Regions from separate parts of the Homo sapiens genome. Here all the other regions are linked to region 2. The links are contacts of gene promoters, found by promoter capture Hi-C in blood cells and fetal thymus (Javierre and others, 2016). All regions are on one chromosome and are shown on one strand. The core of a region is centred on a gene start or on the middle of the fragment in contact, and the rest is flanking DNA. Distances in the headings are between cores, read along the strand shown.

Region 1 (4,659 bases), core at 1,987-4,486, 110 kb before region 2:
AAGAGAAAATGCTGATGAGACAGTGATTGAGCCATAACTGAAAATTACTGAAGAGTTATGGAAGAAGGGCCATGGAAAATGTATTCCCAATTGCCAAAGTCAGATGAGGCCAATGATAGATTAGTGAAAATTTAGGACACATACATGTACTGTTAAAATTATCAAGCAGGTAAGACGTCCATGATGCCGTAGCCAAGACTCAATAAGGCGTCATAAAATTAATTAAACACATATACATTTACATCTTAGCACCAAATAACAACCTATTTGACTTCAGGTTGACTGTCCCTTATCCAAAATGCTTTTTGCAGATTGTGCTTTTTTTCATATTTTGGAACGTTTGCATTACACTCACCACCAGTTCAGCATCCCTAACCCAAAAATCCAAAATCGAAATGCTCTGAAGAGCATCGTGTCGATTATCAAAACATTTCAAACTTTGCAGCATTTCAAATTTGGAATTTTCAGATTAAGGATACTCAGCCTGTACAGGGAAACTGAGGCACGGAGAAATTTTTAAAAGTTGCTTAAGGTCACACACTATAAGTGGCAGAGCTAGGATTCAAACTCAGGCAGTCTGGATCCCACGCCCATACTCTTAATCAAAAGCTAGAATGTCTAAGATAAGCAGGTACTGTTGCGTTAATATTATTACTGGTAGCCAGATTTAGCAAATAAAAACACAGAAAACTAGTTAAATTGGAAAGTCATTCAAACAAGAATTTTTTTAAGTATGTTCCAAATAAGTATGTTCCCCAGTAATATTTGGTACATACTTATAGTAAAAAGTAACTTGTTGTTTATCTGAAATTCAAACTTAACCAGCAGTCCTGAATTTTATCTGGCAACCCTAAATTGGCAGCCTCTTCTAACTTAGATTCTCTGATGCTTTGCATACTCGAAAACCTAATTCCCTTAGGTGGATTTTTAAAGTATCTTTTCTAATTGGTAAGGACCTAATCAAAATTGAATGAACGAGCAGGTTGTGGTGGCTCAAGCCTGTAGTCCTAGCACTTCGGGAGAATAAGGTGGGTGGACCCCTTGAGCTCAGGAGTTCGAAACCAGCCTGGGCAATCTAGTGAGACCTCATCTCTACAAAAAATTTTTTTAAAATTAGCCAAGCATGTTGGTTGGTACGTGCCTGTAGTTCCTGCTGAGGTGGGAGGATTGCTTAAGCCAAGCAGGTCGAGGTTGCAGTGAGCCATGATCATGCCACTGCACTCCAGCCTGGGCAACAGAGCCAGACCCTGGCTCCCAAAAAAGAAAACAAACAAACAATTAATGAATGAAGTAATAATGATTCTTATGGTAAACCCAATTTTAAAGAAACACAGCACTGCTAGAACCATCTTCACTTCAGAAGAGGAAGATGTTTATTTCATGTCTACATCTATCCCCAGGGAAAAACAAACAGGCAAATAAGCTCCTTCCATGGAGGAGGGTACTTGTTCCCTTAGTTGTAAAGGGAATGTGGTTACTGCCGCCTTGTCCTAGACAAATTGATCACTGCACACAAAGAATAAAGGGCTGCCCTCAGGACAACAGACAAAGGTACCACCTCCCCACCAATCCCTTGGTTACTCAATAAATATGAATTCAGTTGCATATGAGCTCCTAAAGTGACCAACATTTTAAAAACTGTTAATTTGCTATATAAAGAGATATCTCATTAAGTCTTGATTTTTCACCAAGTAGATTACATAAATTCTGATTAGGGCCTGGTTAAGGAGATATTCAGGAAAAAAAACAAAAACAAAAATTTATTTTGGACTATTCTAGGCCAATCGTGAATCAATGACTCAGGTCAGAATGAAATGAAGAGGGAAATTTGTACCTGCTCCCTAAATTTATCAGTAGGGTTCTTGGGGATAATACTATTTGGGAAGACACCTAAAAAATAAAGTTTGGTTTAAAATGGCTGTTTCTGGTTGGGTGCTATAATCACAACACTGTGGGAGGACAAGTGGGATGATTGCTTGAGTCCAGGAGTTCGAGACCAGCCTGGGCAATATACTGAGACCCCATCTCCTTAAAAAAAAAAAAAAAAAAAAAAAAAATTGCCAGGCATGGTGGTCTTCACATGTAGTCCCAGCTACTTGGGAGGCTGAGGTGGGAGGATCACTTAGGCCTGGGAAGGCAAGGCTGCAGCGAACTGTGATCACACCATTGCTCTCCAGCTTAGGTGACAGAGCAAATAAAATAAAATAAAAAATTTAAAAAAAAGTCTCAAAAAATAAAATGGCTGTTTCTACAGAAAAACTAAGGAGAATTTAATTGATTTAAAGAAAATAAACATATCGTAGTTATTTCCGGTGAGAGTTTGGAATAATTGTTTATCTAAACAATTCTCACCTTTTCCACCTTGCTATGTCTGCAGAGACCTTAGCTATTTTCCGGACACCTGTGCTCTCCTGCTGCTTTGGGAACTCCAGGTAATTCCAACAATGCTCACTCCCACTCCTGTTGCATAATTCAGGTGTGCCTCTGGGAAAAGCCGTTCGGATCATTGTCTTTACCCACATAATCCTTGGTGGTGAAGGTGTGGCCTAAGGTTAATTTTCAAACTGCATAAAGATATGAAGCTATGATACCAAAAAACAGAAGGAAAAAAATGCCAATTATTTAAAAGACTCTGGGAGACAGAAGAAACCCAAGATATCTTTAACTGATGGGTTCCCAAATGCCTGCCCGTGGATCTATCAGTTTTCATTGACCTGCAGCAAGAATGACAAAAAAACAAACAATGCACTGAATTTTTCATAAAGCTTAATTTATTCAAAATAAAGAAACTGTCCTTTATTCTTAGATTATGTCCTTCCTACGTTTTTGGTGTAAAAATATTTTCTTTTATGAAATGTGATGGCAGTACAACTTTCAAATTTTGTTTTTTGTTTTGCTGTTCTTTTTTTTTTTTTTTTTGAGACGGAGTCTCAGTCTGTCACCCGGATGGAGTGCAGTGGTGTGATATTGGCTCATTGCAAGCTCCGCCTCCCAGGTTCACACCATTCTCCTGCCTCAGCCTGCGGAGTAGCTGGGACTACAGGCACCCGCCACCACGCCCGGCTAATTTTTTACATTTTTAGTAGAGACGGAGTTTCACCTTGTTAGCCAGGATGATCTCGATCTCCTGACCTTGTGATCCGCCCGCCTTGGCCTCCCAAAGTGCTAGGATTACAGGCGTGAGCCACCGTGCCCAGCCTCAAATGTTTGTTTTTAATAGTCTTATTAGGCAATGCTAAGAGTTGAACTTTTAAAATCTTTTTTTTTTTTTTTTTTTTTTTTTGAGGTGGAGTCTTGCTCTGTCACCAGGCCGGAGTGCAGTGGTGCAATCTCGGCTCACTGCAACCTCCGCCTCCCGGGTTCAAGCAATTCTCCTGCCTCAGCCTCCCGAGTAGCCGGGACTACAGGCATGCGCCACTACGCCCGGCTAATTTTTGTATTTATAGTAGAGACGGGGTTTTCACCATGTTGGCCAAGATGGTCTCAATCTCCTGACCTCATGATCCACCTGCCTCAGCCTCCCAAAGTGCTGGGATTACAGGCATGAGCCACTGTGCCCAGCCGGTTAAAATCTATTTGAATAGTCAGTGAATTTCCCAAAACCACCTACGCTGGTCGAGTGGACTTCCTTGGGTTCATCCCTGAGGTGGCACAGGGAGGTGAGTTGACTTCCCCAGAGTCACGTGGAGAGTGGGTGGCCTGGAACTCGAAGCTTTGGCTCCAGCCCGGCATCTGTCTTGCTATATAGCATGCTGCCCCTCCAGTGAACTGGATGCCAAGGGCCAGACCTCACTCGGAACAACTACGCTGCTTTGAAATCTAGTGGGTCTGGCACGAAAATCTGGACTCCTAATTCAAGGATTAAAAATGCCAAACACACCTGAGTGTGGTCTTTGAGTAAAAACAAGTTTGGAGAAAGTTGGACCGAATGAGCACAGAGTGCTTTGCGCAGGAACTCTTTTCGTCGGCCAAGTGGTCAGAAGTGCTCTCTCCCTATGCACAATAGACAACACTGTAATGTTTTCCTCATAGATCTTACAATGTAATTGTAAAAAGTGTGGCAACATTGATGACAAACAGATGGCAAATTAAACCTTGTCATAGGACAAATAACTCAAAAATAGGGAGTTTTATTGGTAAACGATGTCAGCATTTTCTAAGTGGATTTTTTTTTCCTAATGTAGAAGAAATGTGCATTCAGCCTGAATGCATTAACAATCGATCGCCCCAAATGCTGACTTTCAACACAAGACAATGTGCAGGAATTAGATATAGAAGGGATAAAGTGAGCAATTTTATAACTCAATGTGAAATCAAGTCTCTTCTCGTCTTAACAATTAAACATAGGAGAGGAAAAAACCCAACTCTTACTTACAGTAATGCCATTCTATTATAATATTCCCTTAACATTGAAGTGTTAAAGGATGCTTTTACCACTTAGCAGAGGAAGACTTGCAGCAGAGCCCCTGTATTATTTCACAAACATCCATCAAGCTCCCTCAAAGCTGAAAGCTACTCTGTGCTAATGATAGAAAGCACATTTATGCTGGGCTTCCCATATATTCAGTGGGTAGAGATTTCTAAAACATAAAGTCATTAGTGGTCAAGTAACTCATTTCCTTGGTAGAACACACGATTAGTCAGTCATCGATTCAAAGG
Region 2 (4,414 bases), core at 1,601-4,100:
GGATGGTCTTGAACTCCTGGGCTCAAGTATTCCTCCTGCCTCAGCCTCCCAAAGTGCTGGGATTACAGGCGTGAGCCACTGCGCCTGGCCGCCAAGGGCCTTCTGATGAATTTTAGCCTCCATGCTAATCTTCAGCCACACCCAAAGAAGGTAATGTCCTTTCCCTTCCTGTTCTAAGCAGCTGAAGGGATACAACTTGGGCAGGCCTGGGCAGATGTGGAACACAAAATGAAGTATCATTTGGCTTGACAGAGTCTGACATAAACATTAAATATTGTAACTTGGGTTTCTGATTATTTAAGATGATGCTCTATTCTAAGGCAACTTCACATACATAATGAACAATTTTTCAAGTCAGGAAAGAAATGATTAACTTTGGCCAAATCACTCTGGATCCAGTAGATCTATCAATGGCACATCTCCTGTTTCAGGACAGCCAGCTGTTTCAACTTTTCCATCAGTGAATTGTGACTTCAGCAACCATATCTGATGCACAGATAGTCGCCTGGGGGCACACAACATGCCCATCTGTGCTGATGGCAGGGAGCCCATCAATAGGGAAGTCACACACTGTCCTCAGATAGAACCACCTCTTCCCTACAGCATGCCTTCTTCGCATGCATTTGACCAACCCTCTACTTCATCTGCAATGGGGCTGAATTAAGCATGGTATCACAGGTTTCGGAAAAGGCAACCTAGAGTATATTTCAGTCCATTCAGCATGAAAAATGAGTTTAACTGAGGGGAAGTTAATTTCCTCAAGGTACCACTCAAGTACTTAAATTCAGTAAGATTCTTTAAGTTCTTGACATAAACACATTGATTTTTTTAAGAAATATTGACCCACGGAAAATGATTACAGCAATTCTCAAGTACCAGGACTATCACACTGCTTCAAGGGACCAGGTGCCCAGTGAGGTAGCTTCACCCAAACACATGCCCAATGGGAATGGTTCTCTGCTGGGGTGAGGGAAGGGGTCCAAAAGTAACGTAGAGTAGACTGACTTCTTAAACCTTAAAACTAGAAGAGGAAATGTATAGACAAAGTGTTCTCTTAGATGGGGCAAAAGTGACTTAATTTTGGACTATGTAAAAAGAAAAGGCTTTGGCCGAGGATGCCTTGAAAGGTTTCTCGTTGATGTTTGTTTGTAATCATTCTTTGGAATAAACAGCACGGGGCAAGGGGGCTTCTGAGCTTTGTGTGCAGGTTTCGATGGGCCTCTGCTGCACTTCCCTCAGGCTGCTCACCGGGATATCGATTTTTTAATTAGTGTTGTGCTGGTTATCATTTTGACTTGGCTTCTCTTCCACAGCCATTAGAAAACAACAGCAAACCAGAAGAGGACGAGATAATCCACCTAAGCAGGACTACTTGAAAAGAAGCAAGTGTGGAAACTATGAAGCCTTGTAATAGATTTTTTTTTTTTTGATGAACTGCCGATCTCTTCAAAATAGAGTCCTTGCTTTCGTGCCCCGCAAAGAAAAGTACACCACGCCAAAGCCCAAGGGAGGTGGCTAAGGTTATACAGGGAGGGAGGGGAGTGTAGCTGGACTGGGGAGTTGGAATAGCAGAAAAGTCACAAGTCAAAGAGGCGGCCCCTTCCACACATTCCCAAAGTGCCAAAGGGAAAACAGCAACAAACTCGAAACTCGCGAGGGCGTCTTCCCGTGCGAAGCGTCCCCTGGATCCCCGAAAAGCCCCGATCCCCTCGCGCTTGGGAAGGGGTGGGGTCCTCTTCAGGAGGTGTTTACTTGGCGTCCGGGGCGCGGAGACCCTCGGGGCCGGCGCCCGGCACAGGTCCGGGGCGGCGTGGTTGCCGCCCGCGCCCGAGTCTCCCTGGCTCTTGACAGCCCGCCGGCCGCCAGGTGCTCGCCCTACCTGGCGCCCCCGCCTGCCTTTGTGCGGCCCGCGCCGCCCCTCGCCAAGGCGGGCCAGGGACCGCCCCCGCCCGCGTGCCGCTGCCAGGCGGGACAGCTGCGGGCGCTGCCGGGCAGCGGAGCGGCGGCGGGGAGGAGAGGGAGTCGGCGCGAGGGTGCCCGGGGCGGGGCGGGCACGGCCGCGGGGAGGGCAGGGGACGCCGCCAGCGGCTGCGGCGCGAGTCTCCGAGCACCTCCCCTGCCGGCTGCGCCCCCCACGTCCCAGCAGGAGGAGGGGACCCCCTCCCGCGCCGTGCCCCTCGCAGCCGATGCGCCCACACCCTGGCTTCCGACAGCTGGCAGCCATAGCAACCCGGCCACAGAAAGTTTCGCGACGCAGAAACCGACTTGGAATAAAGTTTTCCTTGGCCCCTCGCTCGCTCTCCCCCGGCCCGGGTTTACGGAAAGCGGCAGGAAATCAGAGCTCGCGACGTGCCGGCTCCCGCGTCCACCTTCTCCACCCCTGGCCCCGGCAGCGCGCCCAAGGTGGGTGCACCACGCCGGGGTTTCCTGCCCCGTCCCCGGGTCCGGCGTCCTAGGACGCGGCGCGGCCAACTCACCATGGTGACTCGCGCCGCGGTCGCGTCTTCGCCGGGTCCCGCTGCCGGGGAACTGGGGCTGGAACGCAGTCTTCTGGGCGAACTTCAAAAGTTGGTTCCCCTCGCCAAAAACAGGCTCCCGACACCCAAGCACTCACAGGAGCCAATGGGAACCCAGAGGGGACTCCATCCAGGCGGGATTGGCGGTGCTAGGTGAGGGCGAGACGGCGGCGACTTAGCAGGCGGGGCGCATGCTGCGGAGGGCAAGAGTCCACTCGTACTCGCCGGTCGCCGCCGGCCCAGGTGAGTCCGATGCGCTCGGAGCGTCCGCCTCGCTCCCCTGCCTCACTCCTCTTTCTTCGGCCACTTAATCCGTACTCCTCTGGCTGAGTCTCGGCTCGGGCCGGGCAATCTGTCCATAAATGGAGAACTCAGCTCAGGCCTGACCAATCAGGGTTTGTTTTCGTAGCGTCACTCCTCAGGGAAACCGTAGTAGCCAACAAGCTTGGAGCTGCTGGAGTTTCCAAAGATCTCTGGATCCTGTAGTCCTCCTCCCGCGCCAGCCACCGAAGAACGCTGCGGACCCAGCTCGCTCCTGGTAGCAAGACCCGAACTGTAAGGAACAAAACCCTCGTGAAAGAGGAGCAAACCTTTCACTTCGCTGCGTTTTAAGACGAAAGTTAGGGTGGGTTTCGCTTCCAAGTTGAAGGGGCATGATTTTCCCAGAACTTTTTTTTAAGAAGGAAATATTTTATCAGCATAAAACATCAGAGTCGTGGCAGCAGCCCAAAGGAAATCCTTTTTCTTTCCTACGTCTGGATTGTGAGCAAAGTCAAAAATATCATTTCCCCACCCCTCCTTTTACCTGAATTTCCTTGGAAAACAAAGGAAGACTTCCGGCTGCTTTTTCTTTTCTTTTTTCTGTTTTTCTTTTCTTTCTCTTTCCTTTCTTTCTTGTTTCTTTTTTGCACGTTTTGATGGCAGAAAAGTTGTTGCACGTGCAGTGGGCAGAGGGAAGGAGAGAGGAGAGATAGGTGGGAAGAAACCCCATCCAACCTCAGCCAACACATCTGCTGAAAACAATCAGAACTGTAAAAATGCATTATTCCAGACTGTCGAATATCCAAGGAGAAGATTGGGGTGGGGCGGGGTGGGGGGAAGCAGAATCTTAAAATCAAGGTAGGGAGTTTGATTTTATTGTTCTGGAGGCTGAGGAAGTAAATTTGGTGAGTCTTAACAGGCTGCCTTCCTGGAATCTGTAGAAGATAAAATTGGTAAACTTCAGGGCATAGAGAAACTATGAAGCATAATGATATTATGATACTTTCTGAAATTTGGTTGAGGCAGGGCGCTGTGGCTCACGCCTACAATCCCAGCACTTTGGGAGGCTGAGGTTGGTGGATCACGTGAGGTCAGGAGTTTGAGACCAGCCTGGCCACCAACACGGTGAAACCCCTTCTCTACTAAAAATACAAAAATTAGCCCGGCATGGTTATACATGCCTGTAATCTCAGCTACTCGGGAGGCTGAGGCACGAGAATCGTTTAAACAGGGGAGGCGGAGGTCGCAGGGAGCCGGGATCGTTCCACTCTACTCCAGCCTGGGCGACAGAGCAAGATTCTGTCAAAAAAAAAAAGAAGGAAAGAAAGAAAGAGAGAGAGAGAGAAGAAAGGAAGAAAGGAAAAAGAAATTTGGTTGTAGCTCTTCACTTGACTATCTGAGCATAGAGTTAGAAAGGGTATTAAACTTTATCTTGTCTAAAAGGGTAAACAAAATGTTACAACATGGATGAATCTCGAAAATATCGTGTTAAGCCAGGAGCAAAAGACCACATATTATATAATTCCATTTAAATGAAAGTTGAGGATAGGGAAATCTATAGAGATAAAAAGTAGGTTAGTGGTTTGCTAGGGGCTGGGGGAGAGGGGAGATGGAAGTAATTGCTAACAGGTATGCAT
Region 3 (4,670 bases), core at 699-3,198, 100 kb after region 2:
GGATGCTGGTATCTATATTAAGAATGATCTTTTCAGTTTTATTTTTGGGTGCTGAGTCAGTTTTATCCCAGACGCTAAAAACTAAGCAACCCTAAGTTGACAACTGTACAAAATTGAAGAACCCCAACTCGAACATTTCAATTTTGAAAGGGATTTCAGATTTATCAAGAGACTGATAGCTCTGCTGCACCTAAATCTAACGACAGGTAAAATCCAAGTGATGGGGATCAATAAGAATTCTCAGGTTCCCATCCCCTCAACCACTGGCAAAGAAGTACAGTAGGCCCCTTTATCTGTGGCTTCACTCTCCGCAATTTCAGTTATCTGTGGCCAACCATGATCTGGAAATATTAAATGGAAAAATCCATAAATAAGCAATTGATAAGTTTTAAATTGTGTGCCATTCTGAGTAGCATGATGAAATCTTTCACCACCCGGCCTGGGTGGGACGTGAATCACTACTTTGTCCACACTGTATATGCTACCTGCCCGTTAGTCACTTAGTAGATGTCTTGATTATCAGATCAAAAAAACATAGTATATGTAGGGTTTGGTACTATCTGCAGTGTCAGGCATCCACAGGAAGTCTTGGAACGTGTCCCCTGCAGATAAGAGGGTGCCAGGGTATGTTACAAAAAATACAAACTTTTCCCATGTTTCACATTAGAAAATACTGTTACTTCCCCATTCTTAGAATACCCAGCACTTTCCTGTGGGAACTCAGCTCTGTTCCCTTTGCTTACGGGGGTGGGGGAAGACTAGAGATGGGAGTCAGTCTATTCTGACATTACCGTCCCCTCCAGGTAAAAGCACAGTATAACTCTACCCTTAAGAAATCCTGGTCTTAATTTTTTCTGTCAACGTAAGAGGTGATAGTGTTTTAGCTGCAACTGTCGGATCCAGGGAATAATTTCCTATTTGGTAGCTGCCACGTACTACTCCAGTGGCCAGAACCACTTTATTTTATTTTATTTTTTTAGAGACAAGGTCTTGCTATGTTGCCCAGGCTGGTCTTGAACTCCTGGGCCCAAGCAGTCCTCTCACCTTGGCCTCCCAAAGTGTTGGGATTACAGGCATAAGCTACAGTGCCCAGCCAGAACCATTTTAAATACATAATTTCCAACTTCAGCTGGGCCACTGATGCTATTTAACAGTTCCTTCATTTTAGGAAGCCCTCCTTGCCAGTTCCTCTCATGCCCCCAGTTTCCTTTCCCTCAGTGTATCCTGGACACTGAACTCGTGCCACTCTTACTATAGCATTTATTGAATAGGACTAACATTGTTACTTTACAAGCCTCTCAAAAAGAGAGGAACCTTGTCTTCCTCATCTTTGCATTGTCTAGTACAATATTTGGAGCAAAATGCGGTGAATGCTGTCATAGTATATTTGTGTTGCTATAACAAAATACCTGAGATTGGGTAATTTATAAAGAACAGAAATTTATTTCTCACAGTTCTGGAGGCTGGGAAGTCCAAGCCCAAGGCACTGGCATTTGGCATCTGGTGAGGGTCTTCTTGCTGCATGCTTACATGGCAGAAGGTGGAAGGGCAAGAATGATGAATCCTGTGTCCTCACATTGCAAAAGGATTGAACAGAGTGGACCTCCTCCCATAAACCCTTTTTATAAGGGCCCCAGTCCATTCAGGGTGGAGCCCTCATGACTTAATCACCTCCTGAAATACCACGCCTCTTAATACCACCACAATGGGGATTAAGTTCAACATAATTTTTGGAGGGGGTGCCATCATTCAAACCTCAGCAAATACTTATTAAGTGAATAAATGCCCAATACAGAGTGAAGCCAGTTGTAGATATGCTGGTAGCAAAAAGGACTAGAAGAGACTATGAGGTTATCAATGCAAAGAACATCCTTTTCAGATAGGCTGAGTGAAGTGGCCTGAGGTATCAAGGCCAGTTAGTGGCAGTGCTGAGAATAAACCCATGTGGCAAAACTCCAAAAATATGCTCTTTTCTCTTTTCTACTTTACCTCTTAGAAGCTCTTCTAGAACCTGATCTTCTATAATCGACTCTCAAATGTGACAGGCTGTGCTATTCAGCCATTCTTTGCTTTCTGAGTTTCAGGAAGAACTTGTTTATGAAACTAGATAATTCTAGCTTTAGTTCTCACTGAGTTCTCCCCTGACCCATCCTTGCTTTGATGAGAGATCACTTGAATTGCTTCAATAATCAGCTGTATCAAAAAATCTGCCTAAGGAATCTGAAGTCATCAATTGTTTAGGCTTTTGATAATTATTTTTTCCAAAACCTTTTTTTTTTTTGAGACAAGGTCTCACTCCCTCACCCAGGCTGGAGTGCAGTCGTGTGATCTCAGCTCACTGCAACCTCCGCCTCCCAGGTTCAAGTGATTCTCATGCCTCAGCCTCCCAAGTAGCTGGAATTTCAGGCACACCACCACACCCGGCTGATTTTTGTATTTTTGTAGAGACAGGGTTTCACCATGTTGGCCAGGCTGGTCTTGAGCTCCTGTCCTCAAGTGACCAACCAGTTATGTATGGCCTCCCAAAGTGCTGGAATTATAGGCATGAGCCACCATGCCTGGCCTAAACATGTTTCTTTAAGATGATTTTTGAAAAATTTACAATGCAGTGAGAAAGTAATTTCAATTTTGCTGTTTTCCCAACGTCCGAAACACATTTTATGTAATGGTTATTCTTGCCTTAACCAGACAGCACTCTTTTATATTTACATGTATTTTTGGAGTGTGCAATTTTGCAAGTGATGATTTCCGTGATAGACAGGGAAAACTGAGTAAAATCTAAATTTGGCAAAAAATTTAGTTTGTATTTGAGTGTTTACTTTTTTTGTAACTGGTAGTAACTATATATAATGACAAAGTAACAACAAGGAAGTTTAAAAATTTAAGACTCCAATGTGAAACACTAATTATATTGATTTATATGTATTATGAACTTAAGCATGTCTACCTAAACATGTTAGGATGCTTGATGACAGATCAGAATTGCTGTCTTATAGCCAAACTTCATTAAAATGAAATCATGATTGTCTTAGTTTAGGCTGCTATGACAAATTACCATAGACTGGGTAGCTTAAACAACAGAAATTTCTTTTTCATGATTCTGGAGACTGGGAAGTCCAAGATCAAAATGCTGGTAGATCCAGTGTCTGGTGAGACCCTGCTGCCTGAATTGTAGATGGTCGTCTTTTCGTATCCTTGCATGGCAGAAAGTAGAGAGCAGAAGCAAGACCTTCTTTTAAGGTACTAATCCCATTCGTGAAGATTCTACCCTCATGACCTAATCACCTCTTATAGGCCCCACCTCCTAATACCATCACATCAAGGGTTAGGAGTTTAACCTACAATTTTTTTTTTTTTTTTAGACTGGGTCTTGCTCTGTCATTCAGGCTGGAATGCAGTGGTATGATCATGGCTCACTGCAGCCTCAACCTCCTGGGCTCAAGTAATCCTCCTGCCTTGGTCTTCCGAAGTGCTGGGATTACAGGCATGAGCCACCACGCTTGGTGAACATATGAATTTTTGGAGGACACAAACATTCAGTCCGTAACAATGATGTAGAGTAAATTTAAAAAGTACTAAAAGGAAGTCTTCATTTATAAGTAATATAAAAATTGGCACCAGGCACGGTGGCTCACGCCTGTAATCCCATCACTTTGGGTGTGGGATCCACAAGGTGGGTGGATCACTTGAGGTCAGGAGTTCGAGACCAGCCTGGCCAACATGATGAAACCCCATCTCTCCTAAAAATATATATAAAAATTAGCTGGGCCTGATGGCATGTGCCTGTAATCCCAGCTACTTGGGAGGCTGAGGAAGGAGAATTGTTTGAACCTGGGAGGTGGAGGTTGCAGTGAGCCAGGATCATGCCACTGCACTCCAGCCTGGCTGACAGAGCAAGACTCCATCTCTAAATAAATAAATAAATTGGGAGAGTGGGCATAATATAAAACTGATACTTGGCCGGGCGTGGTGGCTCACACCTGTAATCCCAGCACTTTGGGAGACCAAGGTGGGCAGATCATGAGATCAGGAGTTCAAGACCAGCCTGGCCAACATGGTGAAACCCCATCTCTACTAAAAATACAAAAATTAGCTGGGTGTGGTGGCAGGTGCCTGTAACCCCAGCTACTTGGGAGGCTGAGGCAGGAGAATCACTTGAACCCAGGAGGCGGAGGTTACAGTCAGCCGAGATCGTGCCACTGCCCTCCAGCCTGGGCAACAGAGTGAGACTCTGACTCAAAAAAAAAAAAAGCAAAAACAAACAGAAAACAAAACAAAGAACAAAATAACCTCATACTTGTAGTATCAGTTTTAAAACAGAGGTGTGAAGATATTTAAATTGTATTTCAATGATGTAAAAGGTGTATTTTTTATTTATAGATTCTTGAAGAATATCTTCTGTAAATTGCCTGAGTTTTTATTATTATTATTATTGCTGGTTTATAGCTGTTTTTCAGTTCACGCAGTAAAATTTTACTGGGTTATTTGATTTTTGAGAATCATCCCTGCAGGTGATTTTATATTACAAAAGTAAAGCTGAAGCCATTCTTAAGATGTGAAACTTACTGCTAGACCCTGATAGAACTAGTCAAATCGAGATATATTAACACTGTATCTTGGCAAATTTGCCTAGATAAGTCTTTATGATTTTCTGTCATGTGACTCTGAAC
Region 4 (4,782 bases), core at 746-3,245, 120 kb before region 2:
CCCTCTATCCAGCGTTCTCGTGGTAATCTAGCTCCCTTCGTGGACTGTGTTCCAGGGCACATAATCGGCTGTCCACAGGCAGAATTCTGCCTATGCAATAATGAATTGGGGTCTGATTCACACTTCCTTGTGAGTTTGCTTGGCAAGTCAGTCTACCCAAGGCTGCTCAACTCCAGCTGTTTTGACAAATCAAGTTTGTAGATGGACCTAGGCTTCCATGGAGCCCTGTGCTTGAGAAAGCAGCACGTCTCCTTCCTTGATTTATTTCTTTCAAAATCCACTTTGTGGCCAGGCGCGGTGGCTCACGCCTGTAATCCCAGCACTTTGGGAGGCTGAGGCGGGTGGATCACGAGATCAAGAGATCAAGACCACCCTGGCCAACATGGTGAAACCCAGTCTCTACTAAAAATACAAAAAAAATTAGCTGGGTGTGGTGGCAGGTGCCTGTAGTCCCAGCTACTCAGAAGGCTGAGGCAAGAAAATCACTTGTACCTGGGAGGCAGAGGTTGCAGTGAGCTGAGATCACGCCATTGCACTCCAGCCTGGTGACAGAGCAAGACTCTGTCTCAAAAAAAAAAAAAAAATCCGATTTGTTACACTCATTTCTAGTCTTGAAATGGTCAGGTGCCTGTCCATCCTGTCACCGTATCCACTGCGTTGGAAAATATGAGTAAGACTGACAGGAAACTAGAAACGCCGCCTTTATGGGCTGCATTATGCCATCTAAAGTGTCATTTAGACAAAGTCACACCAGGGAAACTGGGAGGTGGAAGTCTAAAACACCACCATAGAAATTAGGTCATCGCTCACTTTTTATTTCCTAATTAAATGACACTAAAGATTCCTAGTCTTTCCAGCCATGCCAGAATCCCTTAGCATGAGGAGCAGGCTTCTCTTCCAGCCTCCAAGAAAATGGTTTTTTCGTTTGTTTTCTGCTCACAAACACATTTTAAAAGGCACCATTCAACTCGGCCCCTAACAGATGGAGCACCTGCCCCATCCAGTGTCAGGGGCTACAAACTTGGCCTTTCCACCCAGAACAGGATTTCCCTGCCTTTCCTCCTCTCCAACATTATTTGGAAGGAAGAGTTCCAAAACCAGTTCCTTCACAGGTGAAAAAGCCAAGGCCCAGACAGGTGTGAGGCGTGCTGCCCAGGGTCAGGTGAGCATGAACCACGGCATGCCAGAGGTTTCCAATTTGCTTTCTCAAAGCAGACAAACCACAGCCCTGGTGCAGAAGAGAATTAACTCAAGGGCTCAGGCTTTTGCCCTCGGTGACTGGGCGGTGATGTCTATGCCCCTGGAATGTCCTACCTAAGAGGAGTGCTTTTCCTTTCTTGGGGGCTTTGACCATAGGAGAGTCTGACGATATGATTTATGTCGGGGGCTTTGGGACATACCATCGCAATTCTGACCTCCAACTGGAAACTAAAGGCATTTGCACAAGCCTTCGAGAGCAGCTGGAAACTGAAGGTGGGCCAGGCAGGCGGTGCGTGATCGAGGCCAAACATCAGAGGCTCAGGTGATGTTTTCTGGTCGGCAATACTGTGAGTATTGTCACACCTCATACCGGTAGGAGGTAGCGCTGTCCATGACTCCACAGGGAGAGGAAAACCAGAAACTCCACCTCGGGACCCTCCCAGACCTCGCCCTCAACCTCTTTTGTTTGGCTTTAATTTGTATCCTCCTTTTGCCAGAACGAAACTGTAATCCTAAGTGTAGGGCTTTTCTGAGTTTTGTGAGTTGTTCTAGTGAACTACTGAACCTGGCGGGGGCGGGGGGTAGTGGGAACCCCTGAATTGATGAGGGTGGCCTGGGGAGCCCTGAACATGCAGCTGATGTCTGCAGGGTGGGCAGTCTACCGAGGAGGCCTGTGTCCTTAACCTGGAGTTTGGCCCAACTCCAGGTAGCTCCTAAATTAAAGCACATCTCCTAAATGAAAACACAGCCACTGCAACAGAAATCCTTGGGAGCAGGTCCTTGAAATCTCTGCCACCTGAACAGCTGGAAACAAGGATCTGAAGTGGGCATCATCCCGCTTCAGTGCAGGTGGACCTTGCAGTGCAGGTGGAGGGAGACACGTGGGCTGCAGAAGACTGAGGGGGCCTCCAGACTAGCAAGCTCATGTAAGAAGACCATTCCCATCCCACTCGTTTTGGCACACACCCAGAAGAGGGAAAATGTGAGGAAAGAGAAAGGGCAGAGGACTCTATCAGAAAACTCATCCTGGACCCTCATTAAATTCCAGCTAGGAAAATACCTCCTGCCTCTCTAGTAGTCGGTGACCTCCGCTTAGTATCAAACAGAAGCATTTCCTATTAAGCAACCAAATTCAACATGACCCAGGTGTTCCTCCTCATAAAATTTAACTTGCACCTGCATCTGATCAAGTCATTAGATATAACCTTAAACTTGTAGAAAATCCAACTGAAGGAATAAGTATAGTGAGACCAGGAAGAAGCAATTAGACAAATGTAAATGATGTCTGTAGGAAAACTAGTTTTGGTCTCTTCAAAAAGTCAGTGTCATGAAAAAAAACAGCAGTAATAGGGCAATTGTGGTAGGATAAAAATAAATTTATGATTCATAACCAAATGCAGTCAGCGTTACTTGATTTGCATAAACCAGCAGAAAAGGACGTTTGCGACTATTAGAGAAGTTTGAAGTTTTTAGATGATGTTGAAAATGTACTATTAATTACTGAGTTATGATAATGGTCTTCGGATCAGTAAGAAAATGTTTCAATTTCTCAGAGATGCATGTGGAAATATTTAGGGGTAAAATGTCATGAAGTCTATATTTACCTCCAAATACTTCAGATATGTATTTACCTTGAAATGCTTCAGTGCTCATGTTTTGCAGTACTGACTTGGGAACCATGTAAATGTTTTGCATAATTATAAAAACAAAATTACATTTAAAAATGCAAAACAACTGAAATTGTAAATGAAATAAATGAACCCAACTGTAGGTCAGGTTGACATAGAAAAGGATTATTTTAAGTGACTTTTATGAAACCCAGTATTTTGACTGCAAATATTGGATATTTGGACAAAAACCAGAAAAGAAATTTTAAAATGAATTCAGTATTGCTACTAATAATATTGGTATTGTTACTTTAACAGCATTAACAAACTTATTCTATCTGTCTAAAACGCATACAATGCAATGCAAATAATTGCTAATGTAATCAGGAACTAAGATTGTTCAGCATAAGATAAATGGGATACAAAAATTAAAATCAAAGAAATAAAAACTCTGAAATCTTAAAAATTAATTGAAAACAGTTAATTTTTCAACTTCATTTTTCTCTTAAAAAGCTCATATTCCCTAGCTTTGTACTTTTAAAGAACTATAGGCACTGAAAACACAGGGCAGTGAGCACTCTTGGTGTCTAGTTTAGTGGTCTCTTAATGCCATTTCCCATTAAAATGAACCAAGGCCTAGCGGGGTGCGGTGCCTCGTGCCTGTAATCCCAGCACTTTCGGAAGCTGAGGTAGGCAGATAACTTGAGGTCAGGAGTTCAAGACCAGCCTGGCTAACATGGTGAAACCCTGTCTACTAAAAATGCAAAAGAGGCTGGGTGCAGTGGCTCATGCCTGTAATCCTAGCAATTTGGGAGGCTAAGACAGGCGGATTACCTGAGGTCAGGAGTTTGAGACCAGCCTGGCCAACATGGGGAAACCCCGTCTCTACTGAAAATACAAAAATTAGCCAGATGTGGTGGCGTGTGCCTGTAATCCCAGCTACTCGGGAGGCTGAGGCAGGAGAACTGCTTGAACCCAGGAGGCGGAGGTTGCAATGAGCCAAGATCGTGCCACTGCACTCCAGCCTGGGCGACAGAGTGAGACTCTGTCTCAAAAAAAAAAAAAAGCGAAAGAATTAGCCAGGCATGGTGGTGCATGCCTTAACCCCAGCCACTCAGGAGGCTGAGGCAGGAGAATCGCTTGAACCCAGGAGGCGGAGGTTGCGGTGAGCTGAGATCACACCACTGCACTCCAGCCTGGATGACAGAATGAGACTTGGTCTCAAAAGAAAAGGAAAAGCAAAGGAAAAAGAAAAGAACCAAGGCCCCTGAAGAGACTGTGGATTCTACGCAGGAAATATACAAGATGAGCTAGAAGATCTTAAAGAAGGAAACCAACAGAGCCTACTGCGGTCATGTCCAAAGGACATAAGAGCTAAGAAAAAAGAGTGTCACTGTTCAACAACAGGATCATTTCAGCCTTGAAAAGTATAACTGCAATGTAAACAGGTACAATATTAAAAGTCCACTAGTTTGAGTAATACTGAAAATAAAACACATCACCTTGGGAGACTGCTAGGGCAACAATTAATTGTTTTGAAAATAGGTGAGTAATGGCAGTGAATCCAGTGTTTTGTCTAATTTTCCCACATAGTTTTTATTTGAAGGTGACCAAGCAAAAGAACTAATAACTGCAGAAAAATAATAGAATTAGAAAACAACGATTTTTCAACCACTAATTAAACAATGGCTCTGAAATGATTTATAACAGACGGGTTCACTGACAATCTGGACACACGAAGAGAGAGCAACAGGCATGAAGTGCACAGCATCACTGATGAAGTTTCCTTTGCCAAAAACGGAATCTGAGTCTGATCGAGTTTTTTTTTTTTTTTTTTTGAGACAGAGTCTCACTCTGTCGCCAGGCTTGAGTGCAGTGGCGCAATCTCAGCTCACTGAAAACTCTGCTTCCTGGGTTCAAGCGATTTCCCTGCCTCAGCCTCCCAAGTAGCTGGGACTACAGGCATGCGCCGCCA
Region 5 (4,514 bases), core at 55-2,554, 83 kb after region 2:
ACATCACTTATAAAACTATAATAATTGGTTGGCATTAATGTCTTCTTTTTCATTAAAATTTTAAAATATTCATCTCTATGTATATCTACTTCCTTTTTTGTTTCTCCCTTCACAGAATCCTCATAATCACAAATAATCATTTTGATTTAGATAATAGCATTTCACTTTACTCTTCTGTGAACTTCTGAATTCTATTTATATATTGCATATTTTGGGCATTTGGATTATTTTTCTTTTTTCTTTTTTTGAGACAGGGTCTTACTCTGTCACCCAGGCTAGAGTGCAGTGGTGCAGTCATGGCTCACTGCAGCCTTGACCTCCCAGGCTCAGGTGATTTTCCCACCTTAGCCTCCCGGGTAGCTGGGACTACAGATGCATGCCACCATGCCCAGCTAATTTTTTTTATTTTTTTTTACTTTTTGTAGAGACGGGGTTTTGCTTTGTTGCCCAGGCTGGTCTCAAACTCCTAGGCTCAAGAAATCCTCCCACCTTAGCCTCCCAGGTAGGACTACAGGTGTGTGCCTCCACACCTGGCTAATTTTTTTTTGTTTGTATTTTTTGTAGAGATGGGGTTTTGCCATGTTGCCCAGGCTGGTCCCAAACTCCTGGGCTCACCTTAGCCTCCCAGGTTGCTGAGACTACAGGTGTGTGCCACCACACCTGGCTAACTTTTTTTTTTTTTTTTGTAGAGATGGCATTTCACCATATTGCCCAGGCTGGTCTCAAACTCCTGAGCTCAAGCCATCCACTTACCTCAACCTCCCAAAGTGCTGAGATTACAGGCCACAGTGCCTGGCCCCAGAGTTTATTTTTTCTTACTTCTTTCCATTCTTTTCTTCTTGCTTTACCTACCTGTCCCTTCCCCCAACTTCCCCCAATTTTAAAACTTTATAAAGTGGAGATTGTTTAATATATTGTTTAATATAGTGGAATCACTGCACAATCAAAACAGCATGAAACCCAGACCTGTGTGATAAGGTTGTAGACAGACCTGTGGTATCAGTGATCAGATTTATAAACGTACAGGAGATGATAACCTCAGGCAGGTAAGCCAGAATTAACAACGGGAAGATCTGGAAACAATGCTTGAGATGTTATTTAATCCTGTGACTTATTCATTATCAATCTTTATTCATCTGCAATATAGATTCCACGTTCTGGCAAAGAATCGTGATGCTAACAAACCAAGCGACCTGCCAGATATGCAGATCCTCACCACATTCATAAAGGGCACCCATTCTGAATAATGTGTCTTGTGAGCTCATGCCTTATGAAATTTCTTGTCATAGAGCTGCATAGCGCTTAGGAGGGTTTGCTTCTGAAAAGCCATCTCCGATAATCAGTGGTGTGGCTTGACTTTTGTGGCTCTGTTCAGGTAGATGAAATGGCCTTCAGAGAAGGGGATGCCAAAGTCCCCATTCTTTCAGATACTTATTGAGTGTCTAATATTTGGGATTCAGTCTTGGTAAATAATTATACTTTTTAACTAAAGTATATTGTCTTATATCTTTATTGCTGCAGTTTCTGATCTGGAAGTGCTGGGCATTCACTCATTCATTAACAAACATATATGGATACTTCTAGGTCAGCCCTGTGTTTATTAAGATTTGAAACATGCCTGTAAGGAGCGTGTCATTTAGTAGGGGAGCTAGACTATTAAACAACTAAAAAGAATAGAGCACAATAAATAGTATACAAACAGATAAAGAGCTGGAGAAATGCAAGAGAGAGAGCCACTTTATAGACTGGAGGGGCTAGTGGGGCTTTAAAGAGTGCATGAATTTTCTAGGCTGGCAGGGGTGGGAAGGGCATTTCCCATAGAGCGCACGCACAGAGGTGTGATGGCAGGAGTGTGCAGGACATATCCAAGGACGGTGGTGGATGGGGTGGCGGGGGCGGGGGTTCCCGGTGACTGGAGCAGGTGATTGTGGTAGGGAGTGGCCAAATATGAGGGCGGAAGAACAGGTTAGGCAGGCCAGAGCATGTTCAGAAGAAAGGAAGTAGAGGTTGGAGTGTTGAAGAGAAGCTGTGGAACAATCTCTCCATCCCCTATTTTGGGAAAGCCTACTCATTCTCATCAGTTCTTCCTGACCTAGCTGCTACCCAGGAAAAATCGACCCCTCTCCTGTTTTCCCTCCCCATGTGCTTTTTTTCACAGGGTTAGCCACTTAACCCATTGTTTTTGTTTGTTTGTATTTGAGACAGAGTCTCCTCTATTGCCCAGGCTGGAGTGCAGTGGCGCTATCATGGCTCACTGTAGCCTCAGCCTCCCTGGGCTCAGGTGATCCTCCTGAGTAGCCTCCAGAGTAGCTTGGACTACAGGTGTGCATCAATACGCCTGGCTAATTTTTGTATTTTTTGTAGAGATGGGATTTCGCCATGTTGCCCAGCTGGCCTCGAAATTCTGGGCTTGAACTCCTGGGCTCAAGCAATCCTCCAACTTTGGCCTCCCAAAGTGCTGGGATTACAGGCATGAGCCACAACCCATTGTTTTCTGGTTGGTTTAGATGACTTCTGCTGAGGGAAGGGATTTTAGTTTTTCCTAGTTAGGTTACTTAATTACCTAATAGATGCCAAATACATGTTTCTTAAGTTAGGCTATTCTGTAGATTAATATCTCAACTGAGATGTCTTACAACTTTAAAACTGTAAAGATTCTATGATTCTAAATAACAGCATTTCCCACACTGGCCTGATTTTATTTACGGTAGTCCCCCCTTATCGATGGTTTCACTTTCCACATTATCCAAGGTCAACCATGGTCAAAAATATTAAATAAAAAATTCTAGAAATAAACAATTCATAAGTTTTAAATTGTGTGTTGTTCTGAAATAGTGTGATGAAATCTTGTGCGATCCTGCTCCCTCCTGCCCAGAACGGGAATCATCCTCTTGTCCAGCATATCCACACCATGTATACCTGGCCCTGTGAGTCACTTAATAGCCATCTCTGTTATCAGATTGACTGTTGGGGTATTGCAGTGCTTGTGACCAAGTAACCCTTATTTTACTTCATAATAGCCCCAAAGTGCAAGAGCACTGTGCCTAATTTATGAATTAAACTTAATCATGAGTATGTATGTGTAGAAAAGAATAGTATATATAGGCTTCGGTTTCAGGCATCCACTGGGGGTCTTGGAATGTACCCCTGACAGATGAGGGAGGGCTACTGTAGTCTATATGGCAGAAATGCTTCTCTTTGACACTGAAGAACTCTTTGGGCACCATAGCTTGTTTGGCATGAATGACTTTTTTTTCCTTAAATGTAATTTGTTTAAAGTTCTTTGTCTAAGAAAATGAAATGTGCACATTTTGAAACTCCAAAAATAAAACACTAGAGAGATGACGCCAAAACAGTGATTTCAATCAGAAATGCTTTCTGAATCCAGCATCTAAATGAGAATTAATTATGGAATCAGATCATAGTTAGTAGGCATTCATTATTTTAAGGCAATTGATAGCAGTATTGAGGAACCTAAATAATAAAGTATTTTAAACATCCTCTAGTGTTTTTCACATTTCTAATGAGTTGTGGGGACCAAATGTTCCTTATATGCAAGATGAAATATGAATGATTGTATCTTATTATAAAGTTTTCAAGTTCTAATGAGGAATATCTTTCTCACTCCCTTGGTGGATAGATATCTTCCCACAAATCAGATCACATTGATCATGTGCTGTTTTATTTGAGATTAATTTAGAAATAAGTGCTCTTCATTTACCATGGAATTAGTAGTAAAAGTTTTCTGAGATCAAATTTACTGAGGTAGTTTCCTGCAAAATTCTACAGAGAAGTATAAGATTGGATAAGCCTATTAAACACTCTAGTTTCTGTTAAAAGTGGTTTCTCAAGCTTGAGATGCAGATTTGGAGTGAGGAAACTTCAGGAAACTCCATTGTACAGTCCCTGTTGGTCTGTCTTGCAAGGCTTAGCAATATTAATTTCAGAAGAGCTTTGATTTTGCTTGATTGCTTTTCTTCTTATTTGGAAACATATGCTGTTTATTTCATGTATAAGATACAAAACATTTAATAATATAACTTATCAGTGTTTCAACATAATTTATGATCCACTTAGCAACTTAATAATAAGCTTTTGAGGTTAAGTTCTAGATATAAACTGTTAAATAATTTAGTGCTTATTTTTTCAACAGATGTGAATTATTAAAAAGAAAATGGCCCAACGGAGCACTGTATTTCCTTCTCGTGTCACCAAGGAAAGGTATAATATATGGAAAATATGCATCTAAGGTATACTTTTCCTTTCCACTCATCCCATGGGGGCTGCTAGTGGGTGTGATAGTTACAAATCAAAGCTTGGGCTGTTACATTATCGGAGAATGGTTTTGTTCAAGGGCAAGAGAAACACTATTGTGTCCTCTAGCTTTCAATTTATAGGATACTGTGGACCACTCAGTGACCCCAAGAAGTAGAGATTTCACAGTAGTCCTACAGTAGACTTGAATTTCCTGTTGAGAGTGAAATATAACTCCGGGGGCTTCAGGCTAACATCCC

What was found. The method cuts DNA at HindIII sites, captures the fragments that hold promoters and counts their contacts. A CHiCAGO score of 5 or more calls a contact.
Region 1: a fragment that was not itself captured here is called in contact with the fragment with the promoter of MYO1E in region 2 in 5 of 17 cell types (M2 macrophages, M1 macrophages, endothelial precursors and 2 more); the score reaches 7.6 in M2 macrophages.
Region 3: a fragment that was not itself captured here is called in contact with the fragment with the promoter of MYO1E in region 2 in 5 of 17 cell types (total B cells, naive B cells, M2 macrophages and 2 more); the score reaches 10.0 in total B cells.
Region 4: a fragment that was not itself captured here is called in contact with the fragment with the promoter of MYO1E in region 2 in 5 of 17 cell types (total B cells, M2 macrophages, naive B cells and 2 more); the score reaches 10.4 in total B cells.
Region 5: a contact is called between a fragment that was not itself captured here and the fragment with the promoter of MYO1E in region 2, in 1 of 17 cell types (total B cells). The highest score is 5.6, in total B cells.

What each region holds. Positions count from the first base shown.
Region 1 is chr15:59,263,762-59,268,420 of GRCh38, forward strand. All of the region lies in intron 2 of MYO1E (myosin IE), which reads right to left. Among named protein-coding and RNA genes, the nearest start is that of LDHAL6B, 59 kb to the left of the region's middle. The HindIII fragment of the contact is 947 bases long and covers 2,764-3,710 here.
Region 2 is chr15:59,370,021-59,374,434 of GRCh38, forward strand. It overlaps MYO1E (myosin IE), which reads right to left and starts at 2,851. Exons shown (of 28, transcript NM_004998.4): 1 at 2,478-2,851. The coding sequence starts at 2,480. RefSeq lists a silencer at 1,796-2,115 and enhancers at 2,131-2,634, 2,635-3,139. The HindIII fragment of the contact is 5,897 bases long and covers 1-2,958 here.
Region 3 is chr15:59,472,882-59,477,551 of GRCh38, forward strand. All of the region lies in intron 3 of FAM81A (family with sequence similarity 81 member A), which reads left to right. Among named protein-coding and RNA genes, the nearest start is that of FAM81A, 37 kb to the left of the region's middle. The HindIII fragment of the contact is 6,137 bases long and covers 1-4,670 here.
Region 4 is chr15:59,248,856-59,253,637 of GRCh38, forward strand. The region is part of intron 4 of MYO1E (myosin IE); the gene reads right to left. Among named protein-coding and RNA genes, the nearest start is that of LDHAL6B, 44 kb to the left of the region's middle. The HindIII fragment of the contact is 9,944 bases long and covers 1-4,782 here.
Region 5 is chr15:59,454,397-59,458,910 of GRCh38, forward strand. It overlaps FAM81A (family with sequence similarity 81 member A), which reads left to right. Exons shown (of 9, transcript NM_152450.3): 2 at 4,154-4,250. The coding sequence starts at 4,231. Among named protein-coding and RNA genes, the nearest start is that of FAM81A, 18 kb to the left of the region's middle. The HindIII fragment of the contact is 5,091 bases long and covers 1-3,850 here.